Linked DNA regions of Homo sapiens: all the other regions are linked to region 5. Evidence: promoter capture Hi-C in 16 types of primary human blood cells and fetal thymus (Javierre and others, 2016). All regions are on one chromosome and are shown on one strand. Each heading gives the region's core, a stretch centred on a gene start or on the middle of the fragment in contact. The rest is flanking DNA. Distances are from core to core; before and after follow the strand shown. Region 1 overlaps FLT1 (fms related receptor tyrosine kinase 1). Region 2 overlaps FLT1 (fms related receptor tyrosine kinase 1). Region 3 overlaps FLT1 (fms related receptor tyrosine kinase 1). Region 4 overlaps FLT1 (fms related receptor tyrosine kinase 1). Region 5 holds the start of POMP (proteasome maturation protein). Region 6 overlaps FLT1 (fms related receptor tyrosine kinase 1).

What was found. The method cuts DNA at HindIII sites, captures the fragments that hold promoters and counts their contacts. A CHiCAGO score of 5 or more calls a contact.
Region 1: a fragment that was not itself captured here is called in contact with the fragment with the promoter of POMP in region 5 in 10 of 17 cell types (M1 macrophages, megakaryocytes, M0 macrophages and 7 more); the score reaches 16.6 in M1 macrophages.
Region 2: a fragment that was not itself captured here is called in contact with the fragment with the promoter of POMP in region 5 in 4 of 17 cell types (M2 macrophages, monocytes, M1 macrophages and 1 more); the score reaches 7.0 in M2 macrophages.
Region 3: a contact is called between a fragment that was not itself captured here and the fragment with the promoter of POMP in region 5, in 11 of 17 cell types (M1 macrophages, monocytes, M0 macrophages and 8 more). The highest score is 15.1, in M1 macrophages.
Region 4: a fragment that was not itself captured here is called in contact with the fragment with the promoter of POMP in region 5 in 7 of 17 cell types (M2 macrophages, monocytes, M0 macrophages and 4 more); the score reaches 14.2 in M2 macrophages.
Region 6: a fragment that was not itself captured here is called in contact with the fragment with the promoter of POMP in region 5 in 7 of 17 cell types (M1 macrophages, monocytes, M0 macrophages and 4 more); the score reaches 9.8 in M1 macrophages.

Annotation. Positions count from the first base shown.
Region 1 is chr13:28,315,086-28,317,785 of GRCh38, forward strand. It overlaps FLT1 (fms related receptor tyrosine kinase 1), which reads right to left. Exons shown (of 30, transcript NM_002019.4): 25 at 2,413-2,512. All of the region lies in intron 2 of LOC124903141 (a long non-coding RNA gene), which reads left to right. Among named protein-coding and RNA genes, the nearest start is that of PAN3-AS1, 180 kb to the left of the region's middle. The HindIII fragment of the contact is 8,639 bases long and covers 1-2,700 here.
Region 2 is chr13:28,374,014-28,376,713 of GRCh38, forward strand. The region is part of intron 14 of FLT1 (fms related receptor tyrosine kinase 1); the gene reads right to left. Among named protein-coding and RNA genes, the nearest start is that of FLT1, 120 kb to the right of the region's middle. The HindIII fragment of the contact is 548 bases long and covers 1,080-1,627 here.
Region 3 is chr13:28,333,298-28,335,997 of GRCh38, forward strand. It overlaps FLT1 (fms related receptor tyrosine kinase 1), which reads right to left. Exons shown (of 30, transcript NM_002019.4): 18 at 728-832. Among named protein-coding and RNA genes, the nearest start is that of FLT1, 160 kb to the right of the region's middle. The HindIII fragment of the contact is 1,547 bases long and covers 629-2,175 here.
Region 4 is chr13:28,396,108-28,398,807 of GRCh38, forward strand. FLT1 (fms related receptor tyrosine kinase 1) reads right to left here. Exons shown (of 30, transcript NM_002019.4): 12 at 853-961. Among named protein-coding and RNA genes, the nearest start is that of FLT1, 98 kb to the right of the region's middle. The HindIII fragment of the contact is 1,120 bases long and covers 865-1,984 here.
Region 5 is chr13:28,657,803-28,660,502 of GRCh38, forward strand. It overlaps POMP (proteasome maturation protein), which reads left to right and starts at 1,328. Exons shown (of 6, transcript NM_015932.6): 1 at 1,328-1,385. The coding sequence starts at 1,383. RefSeq lists an enhancer at 821-980 and a silencer at 1,201-1,260. The HindIII fragment of the contact is 5,788 bases long and covers 1-2,700 here.
Region 6 is chr13:28,357,461-28,360,160 of GRCh38, forward strand. FLT1 (fms related receptor tyrosine kinase 1) reads right to left here. Exons shown (of 30, transcript NM_002019.4): 15 at 94-225. Among named protein-coding and RNA genes, the nearest start is that of FLT1, 140 kb to the right of the region's middle. RefSeq lists an enhancer at 697-1,006. The HindIII fragment of the contact is 558 bases long and covers 1,099-1,656 here.

The DNA.
Region 1 (2,700 bases), core at 187-2,686, 340 kb before region 5:
CTTGAGCAAATCACTTACATGTGCGGTGCCTGTTTTCTCATCTGTGAAATGGGGATCATGGTAGTCCTACTTTATAGGACTGTTATGAGCATTAAATAAATTAATGCTTAAAATAGTGGCACTTATAAGCACCAAATAACTATTTAATCAGTACTATTCAATACTGTTATAATAAAAACTAATTTCAGGCCAGGCATGGAGGCTCACGCCTGTAATCCCAACACTTTGGGAGGCCAAGGCCAGTGGATCACTTGAGCTCAGGAGTTCGAGACCAGCCTGGCCAACATGGAGAAACCCCATCTCTACAAAAAAATATAAAAATTAGCCAGGCGTGGTGGCACATGCCTGTAGTCCCAGCAACTCAGTAGGCTGAGGAAAAAGAATGACTTGAACTCAGGAGGTGGAGGTTGCAGTGAGCTGAGATCACGCCACTGCACTCTAGCCTGGACAACAGAGCGAGACACTATCTCAAAAAAACAAACAAAAAAACCCAACTAAACTAATTTCATACTATTTAGAATTTATATGGAAGTAAAAATAAAACTTAATTTCATACTGTTTTGCATTTATTTTGATGTAAAAATATTGTTATTTAATAATAACAACTATTAGTGTAATTGAGAACTTTCTCGAGATTTTCAGACTATATGAAGATTGGAAGGACATATTTAATTCAAAGCATGAGTGGCCATATCAGAGAAGCATTTCTACTGAGGAACGTGGGGTCTGTTCCTAATTCATCAGCCGTGGTCTAGGGACATCAGTCCAGAGGCTTGGGTTCTAAATGTCTCCTTTGCTTCTCAGCTGACAGACGGCACATTGCTTCAGTTCTCGGCATCTCAGTTTCATTACTTGCTAAATTCAGATTACAATAGCTGCCCTGACCACCCCTCAAGGTCTCTGGGAACTTCAAATGAGACTATGTGTGGGAAAACACTTAGAAAATCATAAAGTTAATCATCTAGCTCTATCCCCAGCTCTCAGAAACAGGCCTTGCCTCAGCTCCCTGTACTTTTCTGATGAGGACACCACGCACCAGTGACAAGAACAGGTCCCCTCCCGCTTCCCTACGCTCAGGCAGAGCTCCCCAGCCCTGCTGTTGGGCCTGAGTCTCCTGTCCACCTCGTCCAGTTCCCCATCCTGGGTCTGACCTACCCTTACCCCGAGATGATGAAGGAAAGAGACAGTGACTTTGCCCTTTGGCCAAGCCCACACTTCCTGCATTCCCTCTGATTCCTTCTGAAAGGCCAGCCAGGGCTTCTGACAGGACCCCATTGTGTGGGTGGAATGGGAGGGCCCCTGCCAGTTCAGGAAAGGTGGTGCCGCCTCAGGGAGGCCCAAGTCCTTGTCAGCAGCTCCACAAAAGTGCAAGTGTCATCACATTCCTGCTCAGGCCTCAAAGTGCAAAACATCCACAAAGCCCCAGGAAAAAAAGTGTCCAAGACAGGCAAGCAAGTGCAATTTGCACAGTGGAGAAAGCCTCACATGGACACCCGAAAAGCCATCTGACCAGGCAGCTTCAGACAGCTGCTGGGCCTATTCCTAAAAGGTTCTTTTTTTTTTTTTTTTTTGAGACATAATCTCACTCTGTCACCCAGGTTGGAGTGCAGTGGCGTGATCTTGGCTCACTGCAATCTCCGCTTCATAGGCTCAAGTGATTCTCATGCCTCAGCCTCCCAAGTAGCTGCCACCAGGCCCGGCTAACTTTTGTATTTTTAGTAGAGACGGGGTTTCACCATGTCGGCCAGGCTAGTCTCGAACTCCTGACCTCAAGTGATCCGCCCGCCTCTGCCTCCCAAAGTGCTGGGATTACACATGTGAGCCACTGCGCCCGGCCCCTATTCCTCCCAAAGGATTCTAAAGAAGTTGTATTGCCCACAAAGCCTTCTGTGAAGCATAATCATGACATCAGGAAGTTCCCCTTTTCCTCTCCAAGACCTGTTCTGCAGACCACATCAACCCCCTCACGGGTGTTCTGTGCAGACACAGGACTGGTCACAAGACCAAGGTCTAGCCCTCCATCCCTGGGGCTGCTAGGCCTGTTTGGCTCCCACTCCGTGAGTGAGGCCAAGGTCTTGCATTCAGTTCCTGGGTGGTCTGTTTGTTTTGCCTGGATTCATACCTAGAAACTGAATTTCTAACTTCAGTTCCCAGCTAGAGCCCTTGAAAAGTCATGTCAGTGGTCAGGACAGGAAATAGGTAGGGATGGGTCAAGGGCCACGTGCCCCACTGCAAGAAAACACTCCCAGCATATCTGGGCCTGATGGGCTGAGGGGAGCATCTCTAAAGGAAAGAAGAACCTTGGCATCTTCCAAGACTGGGACTCTAAGAATCCATAAAACATCCCCTCTCAGGAATGCCCTGGTGAAAAGCGAGCTGTCAGATGGGGAGCAGAGGGCACCAAGGGCTCACATTTCAGGAGTAGAGTACTCAGGAGCTCTCATCCTCATGCCTTCCCTCAGGCGACTGCAAAAGTCCTCATCCATTTGTACTCCTGGGTATGGAGACCCACCTGCGGGAGACAATGTGGAAAACACAGGGCCTGTTATGGCTTAAGGGTACAAAAGACCAAGAGGGGACAATTCAGTGTTTCTTTCCTCCCTTTAAAGCTACGTTTTAGTAATAAATTCCCAGGGATTACAACAGATCTCAACATACCGTACAACACACAGAGAAGCTCAGCAAATCCTTGCTAAGGAC
Region 2 (2,700 bases), core at 104-2,603, 280 kb before region 5:
AGGAGGTTAATTCATAGTCAAAAAAGGAGAAGCTTTAATGGGCATGGGATTTCCGATTGGGGTTATGAAAAAGTTCTGTAACTAGATAGTGGTGATGGTTTTGCAACATTGTAAATGTACTTAGTGCCACTTAATTGTACACTTTAAAATGGTTAAAATGATAAAATTTATGTTATGTGCATTTTGCCACAATTTAAAAAAATGAGGCCTGGGCAACATAGAAAGACCACCATCTCTACAAAAGAAAAAAAAATAGCTGGGTATGGTGGCATGTGACTATAGTCCCAGCTATGCAGGAGGCTGAGGTGAGAGGATCACCTGAGCCCGGGAGGTTGAGGCTGCAGTGAGCCACGATCATGTCACTGCACTCCAGCCTGGGAAACAGAGCAAGACCATGTCTCAAAAAACAAACAAAAAACAAAACAAAATATAAAGAAAAAACCCAAAAAAACCCTTTTTCTAAAGTGATGCCCACATTTACAAGTTCTCTCCTATTTCTTTTCTTTTTTTTTTATTGAGATGGAGTCTCGCTCTGTCGCCCAGGCTGGAGTACAGTGGCGCGATCTTGGCTCACTGCAACCTCCACCTCCCAGGTTCATGCCATTCTCCTGCCTCAGCCTCCCGAGTAGCTGCGACTACAGGCGCCCACTACCATGCCCAGCTAATTTTTTCTGTATTTTTAGTAGAGACAGGGTTTCACCGTGTTAGCCAGGATGGTCTCGATCTCCTGACCTTGTGATCCGCCCACCTCGGCCTCCCAAAGTGCTGAGATTACAGTTGTGAGCCACCGTGCCCGGCCCTCCTATTTCTTATGTCCTAAATTTTTCATTTAAAAATTTAATAGGACCTAACACACACAAACAAACACACACACACCCCACCACCACTACCACCACCACTAAACTTAAACAACTAGCAGGGGGCCCTGCTATTCATACGAATAGATGTTTGTGTTGACCAATGCATGATCCCTCAGTTGGACCTTACTGTGGCCAGCAGCTTTCAGGAGGCTTTTCTGGGCTGAATAGAGATGAGGATGTTATGCTGTAAAATGCATCCAGGAAATTTTCTTTAGGCAAAGCTTTAGGATAGGATATATTGCTATGTATGTGTGTGTATACCTATGCATGTAGGTGCAAGACCTAAATCACCTGAATCTTGCCAATAAAAAGAGATACTTTGGGGCTGACTGATTCTTCATAAATAGCTTCTATTGCTTTCCAATTCAAAATGGAACTTTACTCATGGATTACTTTACTTTTCTGAATATAAATTATAGAACTCTACCACTGTACTTTTCAATCTCATTGAACTAGCCAAACATTAACAAGTAATTGCAGAATTGCAGAAAGCGCATAAAGCAACATTTTCAATTTTTTTTTTTTTGCCATGATAGGGCTGTGTTAAAGTCAGGTTCCCTCTGTTGGCTGAGATGAGTGTTGTAGGTCTGAACTTTGGCAATGTCAACAGGTTAGTTTTCGCATGCTGTTACCCCACTACCTCTCTTACTTCATTACTCTCCTTTCTTCTACCTCCTAAAAGAACTTTATCCTTGGAAAAGAACTGAGCCTTGATTCTGCAACATAGTCCTGGCAGGGAAGAAGAGCTACTTGCATATCAGCAGTGAAGCTTGGTTTTCCTTGATCTGGATGTAGAGAGCCCCTGACCTTAATGACACATATTGAAGAGACAGGGCTAGCGAGAACAGCTGCTTAGCTAATCACACCAGCAGATCAGCTCTGGTCTCAGGGGTGCTAAGTAGAGCAGCCAGCTCACCCTCACAGGCACTGCTCTGCGCACACCCTGGATATCTTGTTCACATTTCTTTTCTGCAATAATAGTTCTTCATTCATTGTGTACCGTAAGGATAGATTTCATGAGAAGGAAAAGGCAACTACAACTCAAGTTTTGCAAAAGATATTTGACATTTCTGAATTTCATTAAGGAATTTGATTAAGGAATCAAGCAAAACTGCTGATTCTAGTAGCCTGAGCGTGACAGATGGTCAGTTTTTCATCCCTGGGTATTAACAGCCTCATTCCTCTCTCTCTTCTAAGGTTCCTTAAGATCTTTCCTGGATCTAGTCAAATCACTTGATAATTCAGAGGTGATTCTGTCCTCTTAGGTACTAGGATCTGAATATGGTGCCTACAGATGCAGACATTTGGTGTCAGTGATATAGTGTGACAGGAAAGATGTCCTCTAACAGTTAGATAAACACTTAGTCCTAGTGATCAAGAAGATTTCATTTAAGAAGGAGTATTAATCATTGGGTTAGAGTGATTCTCTCCTGCTCCACCCTCAGTCTGTTTAAGACAGAATTTACTCTTTCTGAACTCTTTGTTGTTCTAATACTACTGCTTTAACCTTAAAATATTCTAAAAATGTTTTGCTATCATAAAAATTTAGCTTAAATAATAGTTTGATGATGGTTTATTGGTTCAGGCAGGCTTTACTAAGAACATCTAAGATCAAGATTGCCTTCTGTTTTCTCAAATATTTCCAGAGAGGGAGGGTTTGTTACTTTTTTCAGCCTTTTAATGACTCTTTCAGAGCACAATCACTTGTGAGATGGTTTGTGCCTGTGTCAGTGCAAACCTAAACTAGATAGGCCTTCTGCCATATATTCTTGGCCAACTTATGTTACTTCCTTACAGTGCCACTGTGAAGAGGGTTGCCAGTAGCCCCTCTTGCAGCACC
Region 3 (2,700 bases), core at 152-2,651, 320 kb before region 5:
TGAAGCATCATAAAATTCCATTACAGATGAGGAAATGAAGTATTTTCTACACTGTAAAGGACCTGTGAGTCTTTGAGACATGTGGTTTACACAGCTTTCACTGATTTTCATTTTCAATCTGTCTTTGGTGTTGGGCATAAGTCACTGTGTGATTTGGTTCTACCTCCCAGTGCTTCACAGAGTAGTAGTATCTTTCAACACTAGAAAGATAATTCAGGTTTTTAAACTGCTAAAGAGGAAATGTTTTATGGCTGAGGTAGTTAGTATAAAATAGTTTAGAGTTCTGATCAACTCAATTGTTCTAGCTTTATAGTTTTACTTTATAGTCAGGTCAAGCCCAAGCAAAGCCATTGGGATTTAGAATGTGCTGCTAAGTTTCCATTACAACATCACAGTAGATCATGCCAAAATCTGAACCTGCAGTTACAATGGGCTTAAGTCCCTTGTTGTCTACAGTCTGTGATGTGAGATGAGAAAGACCTTTGAGGTGACAGAGATCATTTTCCTATGGACAGTGCTGGATTGTTCCATTTACAAGGTTTCTTCTGAGCTCGTGCTGGCCTAATCTAAAACTCGTGAGCAAAGAGGCCTCTAGCAGTAGAAGAAAATTATGTGTCCAGAGCAGAAAAGCTTGTGTCTGTTCCCAGGCTATATCTAACTTGTACCAACATTTAGGAAATGCAAAATGGTGATGGGTCAGTTGAAAGCCAAACTACAGCATACATACCTTTCAGCATTTTCACAGCCACAGTCCGGCACGTAGGTGATTTCTTAATGCCAAATGCTGATGCTTGAACCACTTTTCCAAAAGCCCCTCTTCCAAGTGATTTGCCTGTAATGAAGAGAAGACACTGGTTTGTTTGCCGAGGCAATAGGGTGAGTTTAAGTCTTTTTCAGGAAGGAAATGCCTTTTCCTATGTGTGCATGTGAGGCATGGAATCTCCAGTGAACTAACCCTAAAAGAGACAAAGTAAGGGACTTATTTCTGGAGTCTCTTCCTTTCAACTCTTAACTCTGTTCCTGAGGCCCCACATCCTTCAAAGATAGAGTAAGTCCCTAGAAGGCATTCAGTGAAGGTAGATGTCCAGTTTCCTTTCCACAGCGTTCTCCCGTAGGAGAGATGGGACCAAGTCCCGTGTAGTTTCTTCCATTGTTTAATAACATTATGACCAAGAAGACTTCCCTGTGTGGAACCTAAGCTCTTTTTCTTTTTCCATTTACAGTCATTTTTCTCTCATCTGTTTTCAGCAAAAAGGGAGAAATAGAAAATGGTGGTTACTACTGTGGATTATAATAATGCTCATAACTTTAAAATAATCACTAAGTCATTTATCCGACTTCCCTACCAGGCAAAATATTTCCAGTCTTTCTAATGTGTCTTAGGTGAAGATTACAAATCCTCGTGGTTCAGCACAGGAGCCTGGTCAACCACTGGTAGTGATTTGTTTCAACCCCAGAGAGGTAGTTGCTAAATGCAATAACTAAGCAAGGTTCCTTTCATGGTCCCCATAATGCTATGCTATAATGACTGTTAATATGTTTCTTTCCCTATCCTAGAATGACCCAGGGAGTCCTTGCCCCCCTTTACTCTGGGGGGCAAGGACCATGTCTGAATCTTCCCAGAACCTAACTTGGTGCCTGGTGCTATCTGTTATTACTGAATATTGCTGCAGAATGGAGAGTGGTGTTCAGGAATGTGTGGGTTGCCCAAAGCAAGTCTCCTAGTCATAGGTAACTAGAGGGGCCCATGGGATGGAGACCCTGAGATTGATGCCCTTTAGGGAGGGCACTCCCTGGAGTACCTAAGCTGCCTTTTATATCAGGGAACCTCCTTTTGCACATCAGGAAACAGCTCAATAGAACCCAGAGAAATGGTGCACCTCCAGCATGATATACCCAAAGAAGAGTAAGTGAAGTAAGTCAGTCTTTTTTTGGCTTTTCTTGGGGGAAGGGGAAATGACAGAATACCACTGGTTGGTTAAAACTATTATAAATCCTGGCAGTTAGAGTGTTAATTTAACACAACCCCTCCTTTCCCAACCAAGTGCTCTTTCTTAGACCCGTCTGATAATGTGCCTTCAGTTAATGAACCTTCTTTCCTCCCTTCCTTCCTCATTACTCCACTCCCTTTCCCCAAAGGGCATTTTTAAAAAATTTTCTTGTAGTTTGTAATGAAGCTTTGCTTCTTCCTCATCATATTAGAACCTTTCTACTTTTATGCCCAACTACTCAGTGACAAAAATGTCTTTACCTTGCTCTGCTTAATGTCTTCTACTACCCACCACCCCAGGTGTCCAGTTAGGATGTATGAAAATTTCACTTATACCAGTGTCATCATTAGGGCCTCTGTGTGGCTGTCTGCAGGGACATGCTCTGCATTCAGAGAGAACACTGGGGAGACGACACGTTTCTCTTTTTGTGAAACATGCTCCCGTAGTGATTACTAAATGACATTCCTCCCAGAGCATGCAACACGGGCAGAGCTACAGCCTCTGCTTCCTTCTTCGCATAAAATTGTTGAAGAAATAGACCAGGATGGGGACCCTCGATTTGAAATAAAAGAGCCTCCAGTGGATCCTGAAAGTGCTACATCTGAAAATCCGGTGTGGGAACAGCGCTGGCAGATGCCTTCTCTATACTAGTAAAAACTGGTGCATTTTGGTTGGAGGTTTATTCCTTGCTTTATTTGGGATAAAGTAT
Region 4 (2,700 bases), core at 175-2,674, 260 kb before region 5:
TATCTCCCATGGCACAGCTTCTCTGGGGCTTGGCTAACTTGCCAGAGGCCCCTGTGATCTGACAACACATATGTGTCATGGAATTGGACATGTCTATTTCTTTCTGGAGAACTTTTGGCAATTTCTGCAGCCTGCCCCGGGCAGTGAGAAGTTTCCAGAAAGTTGGCTTACTGCCCATGTTTCCTCAGAAATTGGGGGAGTGTGGAGCCAGGCAATTGTTTTTATACTTTGAGCTACTTACTTCCTTCCTGTACCCATTGAGGGACATAGGGAGTGCCATTTGTGTACCTTGGAGGTTTTTAAGATTTGCAGAGACCATCATATTTAAGGCTAAAAATTCTTAAATGCTATCAAAAAATAGCACATTAACTATTGTTAATAAAGCTCTGTTTCAGATTGCTACAGAGCCTCATTCCCCAAAAAGTCTAAATTACCTAAGTTGTAAAAAAATTAACCTTTTGGTTAAAACAAAAACAAAACCAAAAACGATGTCATCATATTATATGCATTATAATTGGTTTCCTTGATTGGTATTGAACTGCTATGTACCAGACCCTGTGCTAGGTACTGAAGGGAATGAAAAAATGAGCATACAAGATTCCCAATTCATAATCCAGTCTGGGAGGGAGACAAACACAAATAACTCTAAAAGAGAATACAGGGAAATAACTCCTTACGAGATCCGATGAGGTAGAATTCTATTCCTGAGAGCAAGGATGAAGGCACTCAAAGTTTGACAATTCTATGGAATTAAAAAAAAATCACTCAAGCTATAAATGCACTAAAAGCAAACAAGACTGAAGAGAGAATGAAGTCACCAGGCTGTCTCTGGTTATAGGATGTGTGGCTTACCTGTGATATAAAAGCTTATGTTTCTTCCCACAGTCCCAACTTTATTGGAAGCTATGCAAATGTAGATTCCAGAAATTCTAGAGTCAGCCACAACCAAGGTGCTAGCCATCTGCAAAAGAAAAGGAAACTTTAGCTAGCAACAGGACAAATAACTAATTGAACACCCCAAGCTACTTCTGAGGTTGAAATGATTCAGCTACTCCATTCATTCTGCAAAGAGAGTATTGCATAGGTGGTGGTTACCAGAAGGCTCTCCCCTTGCCGAGCCCCAACAAGAATGGAAAAATAACAGGAAAGCAGGTCCTCAGGAGACCGGGGCCTATGACATCCGACTCATATGAGGGTTTCAGGCTTATTTATCTCGTGCTGCTGGCGTAACAATTACAGACCTGAAGCTGAGATGTGGGACTGCACGTCCTACCCTATGAGGTGGTCAGTTCCACATCAATGAGAGGAACAGGTGAGGCTGAGGCCTTCCCTTTTGTTTGGGTGACCTGAGAGCATAGATGCCAGTTATAACAGGAGCCTTCTCTGCTGTTTGGTTCTATAACAGGCATGTTAAGTGAGCAAGGACAGAAGATAATGTTTGGCTGAAACTTTTTTTTTTTTAAGAAATGGGGTCTTGCTATGTTGCCCAGGCTGGCCTTGAACTTCTGGGCTCAAGCAGTTTTCCCGCTTTTGTCTCCCAAGTAGCTGGGACAACAGGCACATGCCACTGTACCTGGCTTGAAACTTTTTTTCTATGCTCAAATAATGTGGCATGCAGCACTGGATGGTCCTGAAGGAGACCGTGTGTGTGTGTGTGTGTGTGTGTGTGTGTGTGTGTGTGTGTGTAAATTACCTAATTTCTCTTAATAAATTAAGTATCTATTCCTAATCTAGAAGATGAAAATTTAAATTATGAATTAATGCAATTATATTGTTCCACTAGACTTTAGTGCTATTATTTGACAACTTAGTCCCTAAAGAAACATTAGCAGTCAAAATTGCATGAACTTGAAAGCACTTTCCAAATTCTGATGTCTAAAAAGTAATGAAACAAAATTTTAGACAACTTAAAGACTTGCATTCTTCCAAAGAAAAAAAATTGGCAATATGAAACAAATTGTTAAACATTCTTAAATTTAACCCAAGCTTGCATTAAAAAGTAGTGTATAATCTATATGAAAAAAATGAGAAAGCTAGTTTCTCATACTTAAAATTATGGAAAAGAAAAGTTAGTCCAGTTACTTATAAATCTTTGCAGCCTATGTCCTAGGACAAAAATAACTGGTTATGGGCTTTGAAATTGCAGAGGCTGTGCAAATGATTCCAGACTAATAGAGTGTCCTTGCTGAAGTATAATGACAAGTGACTTACAGGCTAAAGTAATGTAAGGCTGAAATGTGACAGCTGACTTTCCAAGGTGGTGGACATACTCTACAAGTGGTTTGGCTGTAGGAGAGAGTCCTAACATTTTCTTGAGTTTCTAAGTAATGTGCTAGGCACTTTAGTTGTGTTCTCTTATCCCATCTAATAAATTAAGGTATTTCTGTCTTTAATCTACAGATCAGGAAGACTTAAACACATGTTCCTCATGTTTTTAGCCAGCAAATTCATTGGTCCAAATTCTCTACAATTTTCACTGTGGTATAGTGAGTAGTACACAGTGCTTTCTCTTCTGTTTGTTGGAAGGATCTGCTTAATTACACCTACCCATATACTCCCTGTGTATTATTGAAATTATTGGTAATGAAAGTGTCTGCAATATGTGGCAGACAATTTAGCAGACATTTATTGAGTGATTATCAAGGCATTGCCCAGATGTTGTAAGAGAGACAGAGATGAATATGACACAATCCCTCCCTT
Region 5 (2,700 bases), core at 78-2,577:
GCAGTGGATATACATAACATATATGGCCTTATCATTTTCCTCTCTCAAATCCTTCGATGGCTTTTTAAAGACAAAGCCTCATCCTTAATCTTGCCTACAAAGGCTGCATAAAAAACCTGTAGCTAGGTCCCATGATGCACGCCTGTAGTTCCCATTACTCAGCCGGCTGCAGCAGGAGAATCGCTTGAGCCCAGGAGTTCAACGCAGACCTGGGCAACATAGCTAAACCCTATCATTATTTAGAACAAACAAACAAAAACAACAACAAAAACCACTTGCCTCCATCTACTTACAACCTCATCTCACAGTACTCTCCACTTTACTTTCTGAACTTTAGCCAGACTTAGGCCTTCTTTCCAGTTCCGTTTTTGCACAAGCAGATCTGCACGTAATGTTGTTTTAAATATCCTACTACCCCAAACTAGTTCGCTCTTATCTTTTAGCTGTCAGTCCAAAGATTCCCTAAGATGTCTCCATCCTGTGGCAGCAGACTATAAGGCCGTTTTATTACATTATATTTGAACAATACAGAATAGTGTAATGAGCATGGATTCTAGACTCATAAATATGTCCTTAGGCATATTTATTTAAGCCCTTCATGTCTCGGTTTCTTCACCTGTAAATTGTACTTGTAAGGTTATTGAAAAGATTAAAAGAGATAAAGGATGTAAGCACTTAGAACTGTGTTGATAACGCAATTCAAAGGGCCCAACATATGTCGGTCATGATCACATTTACTTAATTTGTAGTCACTATCGTCCCCTCTCTCCCCTCTAGCCTCCGGAGTACCCCTGCTCCTCTAGCCCAGAGGCCACACCGGCCTGGTCCTTTTTTGTATTCCTAGCCTCAGCACAGGGTTCGGAACATACCAGGCCTTCAATATTATGTTTTTTAAAAATGACAAAAGCCTTGTGTCCCAATTTTGCTTTATTAGCCGAACGATCTCAAGCAAATCACTCAAACCACCTACGCCTCGTTTACCCTTCTGTGAAATGTAATAGCTACCTCAGAGAGGTTTTGTGTTAAATAAGGCGATGTACCTACAAAAGCACACTGCACATCTTAAAATGCCGTACAAACCGTAGATGTTTATTAATAAACCGGAGTCCGTGTCTTCCCTCCCCTCAGGCACGTCTCGTCCCGACCCCTCCCTCCTCCCAGCCCACACCCTTACTGCGCCCTTGGCCCTGGGTCCCTTGGGATTGCAAGCGTGGGAGCCTCGGCCCCGCGCAGCTCCCTCCGGCGTCCCGCGCCCTCCTTCCTTCCTCGCCAGGACGGACGCACTTCCGGCGGATGTGGGGGCCAGCCCTCGGAAACGGAAGTGAGCGGCGGGGTCGACTGACGGTAACGGGGCAGAGAGGCTGTTCGCAGAGCTGCGGAAGATGGTGAGTGGGTACCCGGGCGGCTGGAGTTCCACGCGGGCTCGGGACCGTGGCTCGGCAGAAACAGGCAGTCGCCTCCCAACCCGTCCCCGGTGGCGGCGGCGGCGGCAGCGTGGGGCTGAGGCCGGCCTCAGGCGCCATAATCTGTCGAGTCACGGGGTTTGGGTGGGTCGTGACTGTCGCCGGGGCCCGGCACTAGTCCCACTAGCAGTGCTTCGGCTTCATCCTGCTCCTCTTAGCTCGGTTTGCGCCCTTCCATCCCTTAGACCCCAGCAGGCCCAGACCTCCTCCCCTTACTTGGCGCAGAAGTGGAAAAGGCAGCCGTGAAAGTGCAACGTTCTGTGGGGTGGCGCTGGCGACCCTTTCCTTGACGGGTAACCTCTGGGAGCCCAGAGCTCTCAGACTCCTCATCTCCCCCAGCCCCCGCCCTTGTAACTGCCTAGTAAACAGCCCACAACTATAGGTCGCATTTGTGTAACGCAGCTTTGCTCTACAAACTTTTTTGAGAGCTTGTAGTGTGCTAGATGTTAGAGGGGAAAAAATCAGACAGTTGCTATTCCCTGTTTGCCAGTATTGTTAGTATATCTCCTCCCTCCTTCTCCTCCCCACCACTTTCTCTTTCTTTTTAACTTAGAAGTTGTGGTATTTGAGAAGAACACTGAGTCACCATTGCCACAGACTCTGATATCGGTACTGCTGGTAGGCCATCCATCCAAATCTAGAAAGTTTCTATTGGTAAATACTGCTAATCGTTATCTAAAAAGTTTTTTAGGCACTCTCAAATGTAACTAGTAGTTAGGTTTTCGTAGATTTGCCTTTCTCGGCTCCTTCCTTTATTAGAAACAGCAAGTACTAATCTTGATATTTTACAGAAGGAAATTGGGAAAAATGACAATAACAGAATCCAGAAGTCAGAATTCACCTTTTCTTTGTGCGTTGAAACCTTGTTACTTTACAATAAAGCAGTCCAGAAGGAGGAGAATGTTCATATAGGGAAGTAATAGAAGATACATTTGGAAAGCAACAATCACACATCTCTGCTGAAGGTCCCCAACTTCTGGTGGTTCAACAATCTTCTGACTTTATGATGGTGTGAAATCCATACACAGTCAGTAGAGGCCATATTTGAGTACCAATACAGCCATTCTGTTTTTCACTTTCAGTACAGTATTCAATAAATTACATGAGATACCCAGTACTTTTTAATAAAGTAGGCTTTGTATTAGATGATTTTGGCCGACTGTAGGCTAGTGTAAGTGTTCTGAGCACATTTAAGGTAGGCTAGGCTAAGGCCTGATGTTTAGTAGGTTAGGTGTGT
Region 6 (2,700 bases), core at 128-2,627, 300 kb before region 5:
GCAGGCAGCAGGAGACTGGGAGGTGGAAAGTTAAACAAACAGGGAAATAGATGTCTGACCAATTTCTTGTTGCTTTCTTAAGCAGCTGTTTACCTTGAACAGTGAGGTATGCTGAACTTTCCACAGAGCCCTTCTGGTTGGTGGCTTTGCAGTGATAGACACCTTCATCCTCTTCTGTGACTCTTTCAATAAACAGCGTGCTGCTTCCTGGTCCTAAAATAATTCCTGAGGGGTGAGAGATGTTTAGATTAGTGGGCCTGGATGACAAACAAAAAACAGCTACTTCTGTAACACAGCCTTCTTCCTATCATTATGCATTCAGACAAGGAAATCCGAGCTCTAGTGAACCTGGGGCAGGGTTGCTTATTTGTTTTCTCTGGGTCCAGGCTTTCTTTTTCTTTTCTTTCCTTTTTTTTTTTTTTTTTTTTTCTGCAGGCTTTCTAATAGCACCTTCACCACCCAGCAGAGCTGTGATCCCCAGCTTCGGAGATGCAAATCCACCCACCCTGTAGAAAGAAATGTGAGGCAGCTGCCATGCCCAACTTGAAAGTTGAAGATATCAAGAAGGCAGCATATCTAATAATAACAACTATCATTGACTCAACGCCCTCTGTGTGCTCGGCACTATGTGACACACTTTCATACCTTGACATTTACAACCAGCCTGTCAGCTAATATTGTCTTCCTTTTACAAATGAGGAAACTGAGATTCTGTGAGATTAAGTAACTTCACCAAGAGCATGCAGTTTGACTGAAAGCACATTTGTGACATATGGGTCAAAGGAACTAATATTTCATTTGTCATAAGGCCTGGTGAGTCAATATAGCCTAGTGATGAAGAGTTTGCCTGGGCTGTGTTTTAATCCATGCCTTAGCGCTTCAAGCTTTGTCACTTAGGCAAGTTACTTGATCTTTCTAAGTTTCAGTTTCCTTAATCTTAAGATAAAAATGAAAGTAATTCTTACTCTATAGTAAATGGCAAGCCCATGGTACATAGTAAGTGCTCAGTAAATGTAAGCTTAAGGATTACTACAGAGCACAGTGTAGTGGAAGGAGTCCCAAGAATTTTCAGACCCCTGAAAGGCTTCAAGACCTTGAAGCTTCAATACCTTGTACTATCACCAAGGGTCTGTTGAGTATTTACTCTGCCATCAGTTCGTGTTACAAAACAAACAGCAGGCTAAGATGTGGGCAGGCTAAGACATGGTATCTGTTGAGAAGGAAAAATTAATTCCTACCAAACACACACATTTACATTCTCTCTCTCCCACACATGCTCAACACATACACTCACACACACAAGCCAACAAATAGAAAATGTTTAATGAATGAGAATGAGTGAATACAGCACAGTATACCTAATTAAGTGGAAGGTCTGGCACAGGGAAGGAGATCAGTAAGGAAGGGTGTACTTGGGGAAGGCTGCATAGAAGAGGTGGGCCTCGAGTTGAGGTCTGAAGGATTGTCAGAGGTGAAATGAGAAACGGAAGCATGAGAAATGGCATGATGTGGAAATAAACAGGAATTGAGTACTTGTTCCAGAATAGTGATAAAACAGGCCTGGCCAGACTATAGGCTGTATTTCATTAGTTTAAATAGTTTGTATTTCTCTTATGAAAGATGTACTCAATATAGAAAAGTTGAGAAATATTTGAAAGCTTAAAAAAAGAAAATGTAATATTATAAAGCTATGATAATCAAAACAGCATGGTACTGTTATAAAAACAGATCCATCAACCAATGGAATAGGCAAGGGCCCAGAAATCAACCCAAACATCTATGGTCAACTGATTTTTGACAAGGTGCCAAGAACACACAATGGGGAAAGGACAGTCTCCTTAATAAGTGGTGTTGGGAAAACTGGATATCTACATACAGAAAAATGAAAATGGACCCTTCTCTCATCCCTTATATAAAAATGAACTCAATATGGATTAAAAACTTAAATGTAAGACCAGAAACTATAAAACTACTAGAAGAAAATGTGGGGGAAAAACTCCACGATATTGGTCTGGGAAGAGATTTCTTGGATATGACCCCAAAAGCACAGGCAACGAAAGCAAAAATAGGCAAATGGGATTGCATCAAACTAAAAACCTTTTGCACAGCAAAGGAAACAATTAATAGAGTGAAGAGACAACCTACAGATTGGGAAAAAGTATTTGCAAATCATACATCAGATAAGGAGCCAATATCCAAAATATACAAGGAACTCAAACTACTCAATAACAAGGAAACCAATAATCCTATTTAAAAATGGGCAAAGAAATCAAATAGACATTTTTCAAAAGAAGACAGATGGCCAACAGTTATATGAAAAAAATACTCACCATCTCCAATCACAAAAATGTAAATCAAAACCAAATGAGGCCAGGTGCAGTGGCTCATGCCTGTAATCCCAGCACTTTGGGAGGCCGAGGTGGGCAGATCATCTGAGGTCAAGAGTTCAAGACCAGCCTCGCCAACATGATGAAACCCAGTCTCTACTAAAAATACAAAAATTAGCGGGGTGTGGTGGCGAATGCCTGTAATCCTAACTACTTGGGAGGCTGCAGCAGGAGAATCACTTGAACTGGGGAGGCAGAGGTTGCAGTGAGCGAGATCGTGCCACTGCACTCCGGCCTGGGTGACAGAGCGAGACTTTGTCTCAAAAAACAAGAAAAAAACCAAATGAGATAGCACCTCACACCTATTAGATTA